Regions from separate parts of the Homo sapiens genome. Here region 1 is linked to region 2. Evidence: promoter capture Hi-C in 16 types of primary human blood cells and fetal thymus (Javierre and others, 2016). All regions are on one chromosome and are shown on one strand. The core of a region is centred on a gene start or on the middle of the fragment in contact, and the rest is flanking DNA. Distances in the headings are between cores, read along the strand shown.

Region 1 (2,700 bases), core at 52-2,551, 300 kb before region 2:
TTTTATGATTAACAAGTTGCTCAAAGGTAGTATGAATTTGTTTCTGAATGATTACAGGATACTCTAAAAAATATAAAGTTAAAAATATCCTAAATAATTTATCTTCACAGTAGTTTTAAATACTTTCATCATCTCACAAAATAAAAAAAAAATTCAATTAATTACCAAGCCTTAGGAAAAACATTATTTTCTAGGCAAATTATAGCTTTTACTAAAAGACTGTTTTATACTGACATATTTTACATAACTACAATTCATCATAGACCTTGTCATGGTTCCACTGCTTACAGATACACTGTGGAAATTAACACCCCAAGTGCCTGAGAGAAGTTTTACTTTATCTTACTTTTTTCATTTCTCTCTCTGATTATTGCTAATGAATATAAAAAAACAAAAAGAATATTAAAAACACATGTAAATTTACCATTCAAGGAGAACTTGTTTATATTTGAAGTACACTGCACTCTAGCCCTTTAGAGATCACTTTGCAAACCCAGCTTTGGCTCCCATTTTCATGCAACAGTAAATAATTTCCTCAGGTCATTAAAATTTTTTCAAAGATATCATTTTAATAGCTATATAATATTCTATGCTATGGAAATGTCATTCTTTGCATTTATAATTAAAAGGTCTTATTCAGAGAATAAACATTCACCTACATTTTCCTATAATTTTCTCATTATTTAATTTTTTTGTATTTGTCTTTAATCCCATACATATTCAGATGTATCAAAGTTCAAAAAATTATGAAAAAGTACGCAATGAAAAGCCTCTAACACCACAACCAGACACCTAGTTCCCCTCCCTATAAGGGTAACAAATATTATGAGGTTATTAAGTAACCTTTGGCAGATAACTAATGTACATATAAGCAAAGACATCTACATTTTTACAGAAATGTCCACCTTGGAATTTCGTTGGGAGTTTTGTCTTCAATGAGAGTGTTTTCTGCATGATAATGCCTTTCAAAATTATATAAGGTTCTGCTTATGGTCTGTATAATACCCAGTGCAAATTGGTTACCCACGCAAACTACAGAGCTGATAAAAGTGTCTTCACTCAAGCCACCACATTTTTCACCAGTTTTAGGACTACAGATCTTAGGTAGTCATGAAAAGTCCCTTGAAAACCTCAGGTCAAATGCTTTCAGCCTCACACCTGGGATGAAAAAAATAAGCCTTGAGAAAGTCAAAACAGGTACACAGACCCAGAATGCAGACAGGAATCATGGAAACTTCAGAACCTATAAAATACAGTAAGCAAATTCAGGGAATTCATTTGTTTACTCAGAATTGGTCACCAGTCCCACATAAAGATTTCAGCAGAGCAATCATCTCAAATACGATTAGCAAATCTAACTTTTTCTGAATTGAATCTCTGACATTCTGAAAACATTTAAGCATCTAAATGATAAAATGTGCTAAATAAGAATCAAAAATATTAAAATGATGTATAACAGCTCTACTTTCCTTTTACCTAACTAGGGACTTTAAGAGGAATGTGTGTCACCTTATTGCTGCTGTATTTTACAGACTCTCTGGTTTTGATTAATATTACAATTAATTCTTTCTAACACTGTTTTACAAACAGAATGACTTAAAAAATAAGAAAGACTATAAAGATCATGTCTTCTCTGTTCTATAACGAGCAAGTAAATAGCATGGAAAAAACACATGGGAAATAGAAACATGGGAAATAGAAGTTCCTAATTTGGGGCCATACCACTTAATTTTCTTACCAAAGTTTATTTTCTATTCTGTACAGAATGTGAGTGACAAGTAGCTAAATACCACGTGTTCAATATAGGGAGAAATACCTTTCTCTTTCTTATAGAATACCGAATTGTAGCAATAGTCAAAGGAAAAAAACATGTTCCCTTCTGCAAAATCATCTTACATTTATATATGCCAAGAAAAAACATATTTGTTGTAGAATCCTACCTGTTGTATCAAGACCCCTAAGTTGCCCATGAACTCGATGAATGTTTAACTTAGCTGCAATTTCTTTGCCTTTTTCTGCTCCAGCATTTGATCTGAGAGATCCAGATGACTGAGGCTGCATCTTTGTGGCATGAACATACCTATCAAAATTTGATGTTCTACCAGGTTCTGCATTGTTTGAAGTCTCTTCAACCACACCTCTTTATGAAAAAAAAGAGAGTAAAATGTTTAACATTTAAATAATACAGTTCAGAGAAAACATTTACCTAAAAGGTTTCCTTTAAAAAAAACAAAACACTCTACTATTATACACCAATAGTAGTAAAAAATTATTCAATGTTTACTGAAAGATACTATGAATAGAAACAGTAAAAATTTTTTAAAGACATATGTTACTAATCTATAAATTAAGATTTGAAATTCCAAAACCAGTTCTGAGTTTTAACATTACATTCTTAGAAATGTATTTTTAAAAGAAAAGATGATCAAGGCTTGCTTTTACATCCAGCAAGATAATCATGGCTCAGATTAATAAAGTATTTCTTACCTGTTCATGCGAACCTGTGTAGCAATTCTGTCAAAACACAATGCCACTAGGGAAACATGAGTCACACTCCTACTAGGAGCCGTAGTTGGAGATTCTTCCACTGAGGCTTGTAACAAACATAAGTTTACCTAACACACACACAAAATTTCAGAACTGACAAGTGAAAAATTACCACTTAAACATAAAATATGCACAAAAATGAAAAACTACTGT
Region 2 (2,700 bases), core at 122-2,621:
TGAGCGTTCAGGGTAACTGCAGTTAGAATGTGTATGAAAAAGGATGGGAGGAGAGATTGAAAACTTGGATTTTAACCTGAAAGTAGTGGGAAGCCACCAGAGATTTTTATAGAGAAAAGTCGTGATCAGACTTTGCTTTAAGCATGGTCTTTCCAGTAGTACAAAGAATGAAACAGTATGGGGAGAGGTGGGCTGCAGAAAGGCTGGATAGCAGGGAGAAGCAGGGGAGCCTGAATTGAGGCGGTGGTACCGGGTGGAGAAGGGCAGTCCTGCTTTAGAGATATTCCAGAGGTGAAACTGAATAGGTCTGCTAACCTACATTGTGAAACCGTTAACACTTGCATATGTACTAACAACTGAAAAGCACTTCCAAACATAAAGCACTATACAATATTTACTTGTTTTTGTTTTTCCTATATTAGATGTATAAATGCTATTGCTTCTTTCAACATATAGACTTGCCAATTTAATACACAATATTTTATTTACTTTTTAAGAATTAAATTCAAAGGAGCTACATTTTCTTGTGTTTTGCTTAAATTTGGGAAGAATTGTTCCTCTAAAAAGTACAGTATAATTGGATACAGTTAAATAAATTTTATCTCATCAGAGCGTGTCCAGTATTTTTGTGATTTTTCCTAGTTGGACTTGCTAGAAAGCCGTCTATTTGAAGCAAGGGAAAGTCTGGAAGAACACACTCTTCTGGATCTAATCTAAGTTTTCTCACTACCCACCTATCATGAGTACCTTTTTCAGTCTCTCTAGGCCAAGGGTTTCTTATTTAAAAGGACCAAGAGACTCCTTGATCCCTAAGATTCCTGCTAAGATTCTGTACCTCTTTCCTCCCAAAAGAATGACTGGTCTTGAATTCTAAAATGCAATTTTTGTGAGTGTGTTTTAAAAAGAAGACTGCATTTCGCTGAAAAATCTTCCTTGGAAAGTATATAAATCTTATTAGACGCCTTTGAGAGTCATTAAAAGAACTGAAGCATCATGCACGTTTAAAACATTACCAGGCTGGATGGAGTACGAAGGCACTCAGGGGAAGGTACTTAAACCTCCGTAGGTTCAACCAAGTCTTACCGGGAGTAACCCAACGAACAAGTGATGCTTTTTGAGACAAATTTGGAGAGTTGGCTGCAGGAAAATTAACAAGCCAGTGGATTTCCTTTTCCCTTCCTTAGGAAACTTGTTTCTGTAGATGCAAAAAGGGCCCTAGATCCTCTGGAAGAGAAAGAGAGTGGGGAGGGGAAGTTTCTCTTTCTTTACTCCCCACCTGCGGTCTGTCTGATTTCCTCTCCAGCTCTGTCTGATAAGGAATTGATTCTCCCCCTCCTCTTCCCCCTCCCGCCCTCCCTCTCCTTCTCCCTGAGTAACGATGCTGTCCTAGCAAGTGATGCTGTCGGAGACAGGAGACGGGCGCCGAGGAGGCATCGCCGCCGCCGCGGGGCTGGAGAGCCTCTCCCAGCACCAGAGCCCCGCTCGGCCCCGGGCTTCCTCGTCGCAGCCACGGCCGCGGCAGCTGCTCCCACGGTTTGATGGTGGGCGGCGGCAGCTCGGCTTCGGCGCTAGCCTCTAACTGCTGGATCGCGGGCCGCGACGCTCTCCGCTCCTGCCTTCCCGCCCTGGGCCGCCCGGGGCCCCGGAAGCCGCGGGAGGTGGTGAAGGGGCGCCGCGGGAAGACTGCACTGCCGCGAAGGCGGAGGAGGCCGGCAGCCGGCACCCCCACACTCGGACCGCAGCCGGCGCGATGTCCACCAAGGTCAGGAAGTGCAAAGAACAAGCAAGGGTGACCTTCCCGGCGCCGGAGGAGGAGGAAGACGAGGGCGAGGACGAGGGCGCGGAGCCGCAGCGCCGCCGCCGGGGCTGGAGGGGCGTCAACGGGGGGCTGGAGCCGCGCTCGGCGCCCTCGCAGCGGGAGCCGCACGGCTACTGCCCGCCGCCCTTCTCCCACGGGCCGGACCTGTGAGTACCGGGCCCGGCCGCGGCCCGCGCCTCGGAGGGCGGTGCCGGGCGGGGGGCGGGAAGGCGCGCGCCGGGCGGCTCCACGTCGAGCCCGGGACCTCCGAGACCCACATGGTACGGCCAGGCAGTTCGATTTGGAGTGATTTGGAGGGGACAGACCTCGGCCGGAGGCTCGCCCCCTCGGTCCCGCGCGGTGGAGGGACACAGGGGCTGCCGAGTGCGTGGCAGGGGCTCTGTCCAGGCTCAAGCACACGGAACAGCCCGCAGGCGGGCACACTGACTTCAGACAAGCATCCTGGCGAGCAGCCACTCCCTGTATTAGAGCCGAGGAGCTCGCACGACTGCTGCCAGGGCTGGGCACCCCTTGGAAGACGGACCCCGGGGTCCCGAGCTTACCCAGGGAGGCCGAGGAAGGGGAAGATGTGCACAGACCCAGGCGCGCACTTGAACCCTGAACTCCTCCCGGGCGTCCCAGCGTGGACTTGGGTCCCCTCCGACGCTCTGGGACGTCGGGGGCGGGGGCAGAGAAGTGGGGAGTAGGGAGGGGACAGTGCGATACAGGGTGTGGGTTGAAGGTTTGCCCAGGCGCCTCGTCTCTCTGTGGTTCAGTCACATTTGGGGTAAAACTGGAACCGAAGCCCTATAGGGTCCCCTGAGGGAGAGAGTGGGCATCGGGCAGCCGGGGAACCGCTTTAGTGATAACTTTGACTGCGGTTCCCAGGCGGTGCAGGGTCA

What was found. The method cuts DNA at HindIII sites, captures the fragments that hold promoters and counts their contacts. A CHiCAGO score of 5 or more calls a contact.
Region 1: a fragment that was not itself captured here is called in contact with the fragment with the promoter of TRPC3 in region 2 in 3 of 17 cell types (megakaryocytes, total CD4 T cells and naive CD4 T cells); the score reaches 5.3 in megakaryocytes.

The regions. Positions count from the first base shown.
Region 1 is chr4:122,246,598-122,249,297 of GRCh38, reverse strand. It overlaps BLTP1 (bridge-like lipid transfer protein family member 1), which reads right to left. Exons shown (of 88, transcript NM_001384125.1): 34 at 2,488-2,615; 35 at 1,941-2,140. Among named protein-coding and RNA genes, the nearest start is that of BLTP1, 96 kb to the right of the region's middle. The HindIII fragment of the contact is 2,883 bases long and covers 1-2,700 here.
Region 2 is chr4:121,950,731-121,953,430 of GRCh38, reverse strand. It overlaps TRPC3 (transient receptor potential cation channel subfamily C member 3), which reads left to right and starts at 1,371. Exons shown (of 12, transcript NM_001130698.2): 1 at 1,371-1,965. The coding sequence starts at 1,751. LOC102724158 (a long non-coding RNA gene) reads right to left here and starts at 2,449. Exons shown (of 3, transcript XR_427598.4): 1 at 2,362-2,449. RefSeq lists a silencer at 1,511-1,780. The HindIII fragment of the contact is 12,740 bases long and covers 1-2,700 here.